3 separate regions of the Homo sapiens genome follow, and regions 1 and 2 are each linked to region 3. Evidence: promoter capture Hi-C in 16 types of primary human blood cells and fetal thymus (Javierre and others, 2016). All regions are on one chromosome and are shown on one strand. The core of a region is centred on a gene start or on the middle of the fragment in contact, and the rest is flanking DNA. Distances in the headings are between cores, read along the strand shown.

What was found. The method cuts DNA at HindIII sites, captures the fragments that hold promoters and counts their contacts. A CHiCAGO score of 5 or more calls a contact.
Region 1: a fragment that was not itself captured here is called in contact with the fragment with the promoter of HSDL1 in region 3 in 1 of 17 cell types (fetal thymus); the score reaches 5.0 in fetal thymus.
Region 2: a fragment that was not itself captured here is called in contact with the fragment with the promoter of HSDL1 in region 3 in 2 of 17 cell types (total B cells and naive B cells); the score reaches 6.1 in total B cells.

Annotation. Positions count from the first base shown.
Region 1 is chr16:84,700,537-84,705,128 of GRCh38, reverse strand. The region is part of intron 1 of USP10 (ubiquitin specific peptidase 10); the gene reads right to left. Among named protein-coding and RNA genes, the nearest start is that of USP10, 2.8 kb to the right of the region's middle. RefSeq lists a silencer at 4,558-4,592. The HindIII fragment of the contact is 2,750 bases long and covers 1,107-3,856 here.
Region 2 is chr16:84,749,560-84,753,633 of GRCh38, reverse strand. All of the region lies in intron 4 of USP10 (ubiquitin specific peptidase 10), which reads right to left. Among named protein-coding and RNA genes, the nearest start is that of USP10, 52 kb to the right of the region's middle. RefSeq lists an enhancer at 1,343-1,422. The HindIII fragment of the contact is 5,744 bases long and covers 1-4,074 here.
Region 3 is chr16:84,143,401-84,147,693 of GRCh38, reverse strand. HSDL1 (hydroxysteroid dehydrogenase like 1) reads left to right here and starts at 2,517. Exons shown (of 6, transcript NM_031463.5): 1 at 2,517-2,614. DNAAF1 (dynein axonemal assembly factor 1) reads right to left here and starts at 2,386. Exons shown (of 12, transcript NM_178452.6): 1 at 2,130-2,386. The coding sequence starts at 2,253. RefSeq lists silencers at 2,333-2,782, 2,943-2,992, 3,043-3,092. The HindIII fragment of the contact is 7,366 bases long and covers 1-4,293 here.

The sequences.
Region 1 (4,592 bases), core at 1,232-3,731, 560 kb before region 3:
AAGGAGATGTCCCTCCAGCTAATACCAGAAAAATAAACTGAGAATGGATCCGAAGAATGACAACCGATAAGGCTGTACACACAAGCCCAACGGGGAGGAGACTGAGGACTCTTAGGAGCAGCCACCATTACAGCGCAGACGGTAGCAGGTGCTGGGCCCGCACTCCACATGCACATTCTCCTAACAATTCTCATGTGAGCCCAAAAGGGAAAGTCGAGGAATTCAGGCTGTAACAGCCCCAAACCACATTTCTATCTCAACACCTTACCTGCCCTATTCCAGGAGAGGGCAACCAGGGCATGATGTTTCAAGACGGGACAGAATGGCAGTGCTGGTAGAGCTTCTGGGTTCTCAAGTCATCTGATGAAAATGGGATCATGGCCCAGGAGCTTTCAAATAGCCAGAAAATAGCCAGTTCAGAAAAAATCTAGGATCTGAAGATTCTACATCGAGGTTTATGATAAATTCTACATTTTCTGATCCTTGAAACAAATACTATACACATACCCCAAGGGCTACCTTTATTTTCCTACACTAATTCTTCATCCAGCCTGTATTGACAGAAATGGTCAAAGAAAGACCTTTTGGGAGAACACTTCAATAAACAGGAAAACTGCAGTCCAAGCACATACAAGTCTCTGGAAATGAACATCTACACTGCTGAAGTGGCACTAAAGTGACAAATGACAGTAATCCAATGGCCCAAGGCCAGCAAATTCCATTGCAAACAGATTTATCTGTTTTGTGCGATGGTGATTCTTGCATGTGTGGCAGTAAATAGAAAAGTAACAGCCTAATTACAAATTCAAAAGCAAGCTCTTCCCACTACGTTTCATATTTTGGTATAGTACCAGTAATAAGTGTCCTCAGCAACCACGTTTAATGTGCCACCTGAATACCAGGAACCATTAACAGGAAGTACCTACATGTCTGAAATTATATCTTTAAAAACAAACAAACAAACAAAAAACCGAAACAAAAACCCTGATGTAACTAATTCAATTGGAGATGATACCACTTTTCTCAATTACTTGAATGTTATATTCTGAGCACAGCACAGTGCAACGTGCCGCTTAGGCTTGGCATTAAACAGCAATCATTAAGCTTCGTAATCCTTTTCTCCTTTAAGTTTTCCTATGTGAATCACTGCTTAAATCCTATCAGTTCCACGTAACAGAACACTGGAATACATGTCCTAACTTTTGCTTTAGTGAGGAATTTAGAATGTGGTAGGCCCGCTTAGTATTCACTGGAATTTCAGTGCGCTGTGCTCTCAATGAGATGGGCTCAAGAGCATGATGGTGAGGTCCTGGTACGGCGCGGCTGCTCAGGCCATCTGTACAAACCACTAAGGCGACCACTGGCTCACAAACTTCTCAGGCCATCTGTACAAACCACTAAGGTGACCACTGGCTCACAAACTTAAAACATCTACTCTTAGGACATGTTTAAATAGCTTGCTGTCACTATGCAAAGGAAAACTGTTATCTCCAAATGCCCTGTCAACATTTCAAACAATTGTATTTACTTCAGCTGCTCATTACTTGAGATTCTAATAAAAATGTATCTCTTTTAAGAATTAACACTAATCCAGCTGTTGGCTAGAAACAGATATTCAGCAATACAGTAACATTCAGCCATATGCTAGAGGGGGAATCCAAGACTTTCCATCATGTAAAATGTGGAGGATCTGCTATTACAAGCTAAAAAAGAGACTGGGGTGAGTCTATGCAGAGACAAGGACAGAAGCCAACTGCATGACATTCAAATTGGGTGTAGGAAGCATTATTGTGGAGATTTCACTATAAATGACATCAATAATCACAAATATTTTTTCGGTGTAAGGCAAAACTAATAGCTTCAAATTAATTACCCCAAATAATTTAACCGGTCCCCTCAGTGACAAGGATATTCACTTGGACCTACACTTCAACTGTTAAAGTTCATTTATTTGTCTTTGCTAAAATGCTGAGTTACCGGTCTCAAAATGTTTCCAAATTCTTCACTATTACACTTCAATACAGGTAACAGGGATCAACCAACACTTTCTAATATTTGGAAATAAGGTTATTAACCTATAAACTTTTTTATTTATTTTGAGATGGAGTTTCGCTCTTTTTTTTTTTTTTTTTTTTGAGACGGGAGTCTTGCTCTGTCGCCCAGGCTGGAGTGCAGTGGCATGATCTCGGCTCACTGCAACCTCCGCCTCCCGGGTTCAAGCGATTCTCCTGCCTCAGCCTCCCAAGTACCTGGGACTACAGGCGAGCTTCACCACACTCGGCTAATTTTTGTATTTTTAGTAGAGACAGGGTCTCACTATATTGGTCAGGCTGATCTCGAACCCCTGACCTCAAGTGATCCACCCACCTGCGCCTCCCAAAGTGCTGGGATTACAGGCACGAGCCACCGCGCTGGCCTGTAAACATTTTTAAACTGTAACTTTTTCCACCTCCCATTATTCTCAGTGACAAATTTAACTTTAACAAGTCAATTTTAAAATAAGACCTTCAATTTGCAGTTGTTATTCCCAACATAAACAAGTAATATACATACCATGACGCTTAATATCTGATAAACAATCAGTATTTGCTGAATGAATGAATGGCCATTAAGGCTGCAAGACTCTTAGGACAGTAGGCAACCAAGTAAAACAAATTTATTAAAACGCTCAGAATGACTGGAGCAGGAACCAGTAACTAAATCCTGTCATACATGATTCCATTACTTGTTTGCATTACTATTCTTTTAAAATGAAAATTATGAGAAATCGGCCAGGCGCAGTAGTGGCTCACGCCTATAATCCCAGCACTTTGAGAGGCCGAGGCGGGTGGATCACCTGAGCTCAGGAGTTTGAGACCAGCCTGATCAACATGGTGAAACCCGTCTTTAATAAAAATACAAAAAATTAGCCAGGCATGGTGGTGGGCGCCTGTAATCCCAGCTACTTGGGAGGCTGAGGCAGGAGAATCGCTTGAACCCGGGAGGCAGAGGTTGCAGTGGGCCGAGATCATGCCACTGCACTCCAGCCTGGGCGACAGAGCAAGACTCCCGTCTCAAAAAAAAAAAAAAAAAAAAAAAAAAAAGAGCGAAACTCCATCTCAAAATAAATAAAAAAGTTTATAGGTTAATAACCACAGCACTCCAGCCTGGGCAACAAGAGCCAAATTCCAACTCAAAAAAAAAAAAAAAAAGAAGAAGAAAATTATGAGAAATCAAACTATTTCCTTTGCTACTTTCTCCATGCTAAAACTTAAAAGCATTTAAATCATACTTTAAAAGAATAAACCCAAAGTGTTGCTAACATTTACGTTCCGCCAACTTTTGCTACTCCAATTTTCTAAAGATGTGTATAACGCTTTAGACTGTTGTATAAAACGTAAATACTGGGACAATGAATGCAAACGAAATTACAATTAAGTTTACATATTATCCATCCCCATTAATTAACATTTCAATCAACCTTGAATTGTGATTGATGCTTATTAAATAAAGGAAGTGAGCTATGCCTAAAGATGCTTTCTTCATGTCAAAATCACAAGGAATATTACACATTAATTCATAATGAGCCTTTTACTTGTTCATACCAATTCTAATAAGCTAGTTAATTAGGATTTAAGTTGAGAAAAAAGCAAATATCAAATCTTTTTTTTTAACAGAAAGGTCTAAACAAAGCTAAATACACCAAATCTCTTAAAATCTTTGGGCTATACATTTGTAAAAATTATTCAACTACTGATCCCTTTTTTGGCGCAAAGACCTACACTACTTACAAAAGTAAATGAATAAGGGAACAAAACGTTAAAGGGGGAAATTCTGATGCAAACTAAACTACAGCTAATTTAACAAAATTGAAGCTTGTCGTAAGATCTAATTTTTTAAAAAGTTTTCGCATTTTAGATTCCACAACACGCATTCATTACAATAGTTCCGAAAATCATGTTTCAAAAGAGGTGTAGTCAGATTGACTTCATCTGCAGAAGGGCAACAAAACCCAATTGCTCATGAAGGGTTATGATTTTACTCGCAATCAGTTTCCCGAATGGCTACTTTGTTTCATTTCCCCATATTTAATACAAATACACAATGAGATGGTTTAAAAGTGTGCAACAATTTATAGGGACCAGATGTCAACAAATTAGCAGTCTAAAGCAAGGCTGACAAATAATACATCATGCCGATTTTTGTCCAGAATAATTATAATGGCGGAGGGGGGAGAAGATGTGAGAGAAGGGGTGGGAGAGGGGAATAAGAGCTTAACTCTACACGCACATCTCCCAAAAAGAGCTCTTTCTTTCCACCACGGGATTATTGTAAAGGGCCCCCAAGCTTTAGCTACTGTTCAGGCAGGGTGCGTTAGTTGTCAGCCTGGCTGGGATGGATTCGTGCAAGGGATGTCACTCAAACGCAAGTGAAAGTACGGTCCTTGCGACTTATTTCGAGTTTTCTTTGCAACAGCAGCCCAAGGCCGCTACTCTGCTACTTCTATCTAAAAAACAGAAAATCGGCAACCCCCGCATCATCAATCAAGCTGAGAAAGGAAGCTCTTGGGGCAAAGGGGCAACAGGGCACCCCCAAATCTCTGAGGCTCGCTC
Region 2 (4,074 bases), core at 813-3,312, 610 kb before region 3:
AGGCACACAAACCAGGAAGACGGGGGTTCGCGCCCTGGCTCTGCCACTTCATTCATTGTGCGGCAGATCACTCCGCACCTGGAACAGGTAAGGAGCTGCACCACGCTCAGCTATAGCAAAGATGAGCACGCATGTAAATACATAAGCAGACCACTCCCGGCATGACGGCCAGCTCAATACAGACATCAGAATCCCCCCTAGAAAATAAAGAGCTAATAGAGGTGGAAGGAGAAGGGAAAAGCAAATGAATTTATGTGAGAGTCTGAGAAAACCAACAACTTTCAGCATCCCAAGAGGAAATGTTAGCCCAACTTCCTTAAAATCTTGACAAGTTTTAAACATCTTGACATATTAAAGATATATTAATAAAGTTCTATTTCAGGCAACACTTTGGGAGGCTATGGCAGGAAGATCACTTGAGTCCAGGAGTTCCAAGATCAGCCTGGGCCACACAGTGAGACTCTGTTGCTATGAAAAATAAAAAATAAAAAATAAAAAAATTAGCTGTACATGGTGGTGCCTGCCTATAGTCCCAACTACTCAGGAAGCTGGGGCAGGAAGACCACCTGCGCCTGAGAGATCAAGGCTGCAGTGAGCTATGATCATGCCACAGCACTCCAGCCTGAATGAATGAGCAAGACCCTGTTTCTTAAGAAAAAAAAAATACGTTTTTAAAAAATAAAGCTCCATTTTAAGAGGAATGATTGTAAGAAATGAAGATTAAATACTTATTGTCAAAGATTTTCTCTTAAGATCCAAACACTCAAGAAACATTTAAGGTCCACTTTTGTAACATCTCACACGTACACTAAGCCTTCCATCCTGACTCATTTCGATAACCATCAACTGGAGGAGACACTAACGCTTTATGAAGTTCGTGAGCTCCTCTTCTTCCTCGCAGTGAAAAAAACAGGGGTGCAAAAGCAGTTCTAATTCCTCCTAAGACCAGACCGAATTATGTTCAAGTGAATGAATCCTATTGTTATCATGCAAAAGTCAGGTCTTACGGACAAGCCAGAACTAATACCACTTCCAAATTTCTAATATCACTCTTCGCTCTATTTAAATTCCTCTTTCAACATCAACATTTTCATTTACAATGTTATTCCTAGCCTAAAGTCCAATACGCATTCCAATTATGGAGGCTAAAAGAATAAAAATGAGGAAGGCGGGCCACCAAGGATAGAGGGCAGGCAACTTCTAGGTTGAAACTTGACCTGCATTCCAAAGTCATTGCCATTGGTGTATCTATTTTACCTTCTTTAAGGGCATATAATAGAAGTTGGCTCTAATAACAAACTTTCCCCAGAAGCCTTCTTTTCAATTCATCATGGTTGGTATAATTTACTACTTAACTGTTCAGACAGCAACTTTAGGAAGATGGCCTCCCCCAGTCCATCTTTGTCACAGGAGTTGGTGGGGCTGCCTAGAACAATGTGTGAGAAAAGGCACAAAATGCCAGAATGACTCATAAAAGACACAAAATTGAAACCTGTAGTTCACTTTTGTAATAACTCACATGAAAAGGCTGAACTGAAATTTCACTCTTATGAAATCTGCTGACATACAGAAAAATGGAGTTGCTTAATAGCCTTTTTTCAAATTTTAAGACATACATGCTAGATGGTAGCTCACAAGGGCTGCCACAAATCAGCCCACTGAAATTGTTTATCAACTCAAAGGCAATACCAGCATCGTAAACTTTTATGTCATCATAAGCTATGATTATTCTTACACATATTTTACACATCAAATTCTGTTTTCCTAAAATTAGGACTTAGGGGTCATATTAACATTGAAAATCCCTGAAAATGCAAGGTACAGAACTCTGATTCTTAGGGCTCAATAACTGGCCCGTAATCGACATTCTGGTGTTGTTGACCTGCTTTTCTGTCATCATTCTAACTGTCCAGAACATTCTCCAAGTGCTTTTCTTTTCCTCATTACCATCAATTTGGAAGAACACACACTATCTTGGTTATCTAACCAGGTGGAGGACAGCAAAGTGACCAAAATGTACCACTACCCATTGACTACAGATCAACTTATGTTTCTGAAGTGGAAAGATGTATAATAAATGTGAGGCTACAAACATCGAATCAGATGTGGACTAAACTCTCAGTCCACAAGGGTGGATCCCGGTAAACAGGTGCCACGCCTTTTTAACTTAGATCACGCCGCATGACCACTGCCTGTGTACTTCAGAGTTTGAAGAGGAAGTGCAAAATATCTGAGAAACCATTTCCCCCAAGGAGCGGGGGGAAATATATGCATGATTTATAAACTGCCAAAATAAAGATCAGTTTTAGGATACACAGCCATGCTTAATGATGGGGATATGTTCTGAGAAATGTGGCATTAGGCAATTTTGTCATTGTGGGATCACATGCCTAGATGGTATAGCCAACTACACACCTGGGCCATATGCTAGAGCCTATTGCTCCTAAGCTACAAACCCGTACAGCATGTTGTGTACTGAATACCGTAGGCAACTGTAACACAACTCACTGGTCACTAGAAATTGTTTAGCTCCATTATAATCTTATGGGACCACTGTCGTACATGCGGTCTGTTGTTGACTGAAACATCATTAAAGCAGCACATAACTGTATGTTCATTTACACTTAAATAAACACGGACAGGGTAATTCATTAGAGAAGACCCAAATTGTAATAACTTTGTTTCTTGATCCAATGCCTTTTAGGTATAAAACCACTGTGAAAAATCATATAAACAGGTTTTGACTAACAATTCATAATAAATGACATTGCTAGATACCTCAACGCAATGTTTTCAGAGCTGTTCAAGAGCTCAGTTTTCCTAGTTCTCTCTCACTGGAATTTTAACTTATCGGGCAGTTGGCCACTCTTCTTACCCAGCATTATTTATATTCTGTTAAAACAAAATATACTGTTGCATAATTTTGAAAGCAAAACATCAAATACAAAATGGCTCTATTTGTGATGTGAAAGCATCTGATACAATTTCGTCTAGTATATGAGGAATGTTCCTTAGTAAAGACCCAGGAAAAGTACAATGTTCAATGAAAGCATACGTTCAATTTCAAACGTCACATGTTCGTCAACTCCAAAGTATCTGTGCTAATGAGGGAAGCAGCAGCAAAGGCACTCCCCACGTGTCTGCCATACTCACTCTTAACAAGGGTGTCGCGTTTTGCAACTACTTTCAAACACAAGCTATTAAGTTTTGGGTTTTTTTTTTTTTTTTTGAGACAGTCTCACTCTGTGGCCCAGGCTGGAGTGCAGTGGCACGATCTGGGCTCACTGAACCTCCACCTCCCCGGTTCAAGCTATTCTCCTGACACAGCCTCCTCAGTAGCTAGGATTACAGCCATGAGCCACCACGTCCATCTAATTTTTTTATTTTTAGTAAAGATGGGATTTCCCTATGTTGGCCAGGCTGGTCTTGAACTCCTGGCCTCAAGGGATCCACCCACCTCAACCTCCGAAAGTGCTGGGATTACAGGCGTGAGCCACTGTGCCGGGCTGTATTAAGTTTCCTTTTGTTGACTCCTACTGATAAATGGCAACCATCTCCTCTCAGACCAGTCACTGAAACACAGATCCCTCTCCAACCCTCGGCAAGACAGGGCTTTTGTGTTTAGATACATCCTTCCCTTGGGGCTAAAGGAAATCACTGAGTATTCAGTTCACACGCTCTCCCCTGGCGTGTCCTTCTCCTTTCAAATAACAGTTCACACTTGAAAAACAGCCAATGGAACAAAATGTTGACACATAACCTACACCGAGGAGATGGCCTTGCCACCAAGAAGGTCCAAGTAGAACCCGTTAAAGTGGATAGTTTAAGAGTAATCAAGAGTTTAATGTATTTCACTTCAAAATCCCTTATACGTGATTCTTTTAGTCCATCTGCCTTCTTAATTTCACTTCTGATGGCATAAAAACTAGCTGGCATTTATTAAGCAGACTTAACAATAGGGGAAATAGTCCAGAAATGTGAGTATTTGAAACAAACTTGAGATAAAAAATACACAAATTATTCCAAGCATTTTGTGTGTGTATAATTTTTTTTTTTTTTAAAGATGGGGTCTCA
Region 3 (4,293 bases), core at 1,268-3,767:
ATTCTTGCTGGCAAAACACGGGTATTTGTTTTAATGTTCTTTGTTCTTTTGTCTTTTAAAAAATTTCTGAAGCCAGGTGTAGTGGAGCATGCCTGTAGTCCCAGCTACTCAGGAGGCTGAGGCAGGAAGATCTAGCCTGGGTAACATAGTGAGATTCCATCTCTTAAAAAAAAAATCATAAAAAGGAAAATCACATGAAAAGAAACAAAAATAGTGAGAATATCTATGATAACAATAACATGAGCACATTCAAATGAATAATTTTTTTAAAGGTCATTCAAAATTGGCCAATTCAACCGCACTTAACTTTAAGAGCTGTTGTCTGCTGCTTTCTGTGTTTGTGTGGTCTATTGAACAAGACTAAAGGCTGTGCGTGTGGGGACTGGTTCTTAAACTCATCAATTTTGCATAGAATGCCCAGCCACAGGAAGCAACAGATAAATGTTTGTGGAAAAAATAAAGAATAAGCGCTCAATATATAAATATTAATATGTAATTAATAACAAGAGCTACCATTTAATAATGGCCCACTATATGCTGGGACATTTAATTATAATTCTCTCCTTATACTCCTGTATAATTATTCCAGCTTACAGATGAGGAGACTAAGGCTCCGAGAGGTTAAGCTCTGGGCCAACAGCCATAAAGCTGGCCAGCTGCTGAGCCTCAACTTGAACCCAGTGTCAATGGCTCCAAGACCAGTGTCTTTCCACTGAGTAATGCCAGTTCCCTATGGCTCCTCATACAAGGTTCATCTGGACAGTTGATGCTTAAGATATATTTGTTGCCTGGAACACAAATCAGCTGGTTTATTTGTTGCCTGCGTTCAGAAACTGGAACACAAATCAAGTGGTTTTTTAATGTAATCACTAAAAGGTTTCCTTTAGGGCACCAAGTCTAGTGGGAGCAGAAGCTGAAGCCAGGCTTCCTTCTTTCCTTTTTTTTTTTTGAGACGGAGTCTTGCTCCATTGCCCAGGCTGGGGTGCAGTGGTGTGATCTTGGCTCACTGCAGCCTCAGCCTCCCCCTTGGCTCACTGCAACCTCTGCCTCCGGGGTTCAGGGAATTCTCCTGCCTTAGCCTCCCAAGTAAGTGGAATTACAGGAGCACGTCACCACGCCCTGCTAATTTTTGTGTTTTTAGCAAAGACAGGGTTTCAATATGTTGGCCAGACTGGTCTCGAACTCCTGACTTCAGGTGACCCACCTGCCTCTGCCTCCCAAATTGCTGGGATTACAGGCGTGAGCCACCGTGCCTGGCCATGAAGGTTATCTTTCAAGTCCATTCTGGCAAACTTTGGTGAGGGGATCACACACTGACCCCAGAACCAAGTCTTCATTCGGACTCTCTACCCTAGGTCAGGCACTGGACTAGACTCCAAATTCAATCAAGATGTCTTGCCCTGACACAACATGCAGTCTGGAGGGAGAGAAAGCCTTTGATCTTACATAGTGATAGCAATAAAGGGACACATTTAAAGCATCAAAGTTGGGACCAGGGAGAATAGCGTGGTGGGTTAGGGCTGGGGCTCTGGAGACCCAGACTGTCTGGGCCTGAGTCTGGTGGGTTTTGTTTGCTTGTTTGTTTGTTTGTTTGTTTGAGACGGAGTCTCCCACTGTCGTCCGGGCTGGAATGCAATGGCGAGATCTTGGCTCACTGCAACCTCCGCCTCCCGGGTTCAAGCGATTCTCCTGCCTCAGCCTCCCAAGTAGCTGAGACTACAGGCGCCCGCCACCACGCCCAGCTCATTTTTTGTATTTTTAGTAGAGACAGGGTTTCACTATGTTGGCCAGGCTGGTCTCGAACTCCTGACTGACCTGATGATCCGCCCGCCTCGGCCTCCCAAAGTGCTGGAATTACAGGCGTTGAGCCACCGCACCCGGCCAAGTCTCTTCTGTCACTGACTAGCCGAGGGTTATCTGTTTGGTGCAAGTTTTGTAACCTCTTAAGTATGTTTCCTCCTCAGTACGAAATGGCGAGAGAAGCCCCTACTGCAGAGCGTTGCTTGCTACCATTATTATTATTGTTATTATTTGGCTGTGAAGATCGGGTATGTGGTGTGGGAAGGGGGCTGGAGCGCCTAGCCGTGTCTGCCCCTCGCCCACCGCCCTCCCTGGGGGGCAGTCGGCACCTTCCTTGCAGCCCCCTCGGCCTGCGCTCCCGTGGTCACCCGCAGACTCCTCCACGCCGGGCTCCTGCGCGCAATCCAGCTCTGCTGCACCACCTGTCGCAGGCTCCGAGGGCTCAGGGTGCATGTTTACTTCGGCGACACCGAACGCCCCGCAGCTTTGGGGGGCCCAGGTTCGCGGCGGACGTCGCTACGGCCCCAGCCCAGCCAGAGAGTACCCTCTTTCCTTCTTCGCCAGCCGCTGGCGCCCTAGTCTTTACAGCCCAACGCTTCCCCGGTCGCCCAGGCAACCGCTGCGCACGCGCACTCGGGACGGACCGGCGCGCTGGGGACGCCGGGGGGTGGGGGCGGGTCTGAGACGGCTCCGCCCCCGGCGCGTACGCGGGTCACGTGAGGGCGCGGCGCGGCAGCAGCTCCGGCGGCCGAGACGGGGGCGGCGGCCGCGCGGGTCTGGCGGGACCGGTTTGGAAGACTTTGCCGGCCTGCAGGTACCGCGCCCCCCGCGCCCTGGGCGCCCTCTCGCGGTCCTTTCGCCCCAGACCCCTCCTCGGTCCCCTCAGCGCCAGCCGGCTGCTTGGCGAGACCCCTCTGAGCTCTCACCACGCCCCCCAGGCCCCGGGCCCCCTCCGCTGCATCCGGCCCCGAAGCCCCTTGGCGCCCCTGACCCCAGGAAATCTTCGTCCCTCCGTCCCGTGAGACTCCTTCCTTCAGACCAAAAAGCCCCAGCCCCGCCCCTTCACATCTCAGAGCCCCCCTTCCCCCGGCTCCATCCTCACGCCCCCCGCCGCGGCGCTGCACCCCTGTTCTCTCTCTTCCCCCGGGCCTTGCCCCCCAAACCGCGAACCCCGTTGTCGCCGGCGCATGCCCTGCCCTCCCTGCAGCCTCTCACCCGGCTCCTCCCCCGAGCGGCCCCAGCAATCGCCTCCTTTGTCGGTGCTTCTTTATTCTCATTTCTGAACGATTTGGTTTGAGTTGTTGTTGCCGTGTTTTTCTAAAATGGAAATATGCAGCGGTCGTGGGTTCAGCCAGGATTTCCGAGTTTGCTCGTGTTGACTGGGCCTTGCCGGGTGCTGGAGGGGAAGGGCTGGGAAGAAGAACCAGGCAGGTCCCCGTTCTGAACGTGCCACCCAGACGCAGCCCCAGAAACCGGATCGCTGCAGCGCCCCTCGGCGATCCCAACATGATGTGTACAGGTGACTGCGAGGCAGTCGGGGGGTCTCACAGTGGGCTCCCTGGACAGGACTCTGCGCCTTGCTATACCTCCATCTGAATTGCAGGTAGCCCCTTTCTGAGTTGTGGGGTCTTGGGTGTGCGACTTTACATCTATAAGACTCAATTTCCCCATCTATAAACGGGAGAGTCTGACTGCGCTTTATAAGATTAATGAGAGAATAAAGTGAGACAATAGGAATAAAGCACTTAGCAGAGTCTTTTGCATAAAGTGAGCTCTCAATTTTACTCTGACCGCCACAGGAGAGAGAGAGAGAGAGAGAGGGAGGGAGGGAGAGGGAGAGGGAGGGGGAGGGGGAGGGTGTTGATTGATTGATTGATTCAGACAATCTCGCTCTGTCGCCCGGGCTGTAGTGCAATGGTGCCTGCGATCTCAGCTCCTGCTACCTCTGCCCGCCATCCCGCACCCCGGGCCCAAGTGATTCTCCTGCCTCAGCCTTCCGAGTAGCTGGGATTACAGGCACGTTCTACCACACCCAGCTAATTTTTTTTTTTTTTTTTTTAGTAGAGACGGGGTTTCGCTGTGTTGGTCAGGGTAGCCTTGAACTCCTGGCCTCAAGTGATCTGCCCGCCTTGGCCTCCCAAAGTTCTGGGGTTACAGACATGAGCCACTGTACCCGGCCAAGTTTGTGGTTTTAATCACTGCTGGAATATTCTAGGGCAACAGAGTTGAACATATTGGTGCTACTTTTTTTTAAAGTAGGTTTTCAAAAATCGAAATGACTTACGCATGACATAAAATTTATCATTTTAGCCATTTTACAGTGTATAACTCAGTAGTTCTTGCTATAGTCACAATGCTATGCAACCATCACCAGTAACTAATTCCAGAACATTTAATCACCTACAAAAGAAACCCCAACCCCATTAACAGTCATACCTCTTTTCTCCCCCTGTCCCTCAGCAGCCCTAAGTTATCTTCTGTCTCTATGGATTT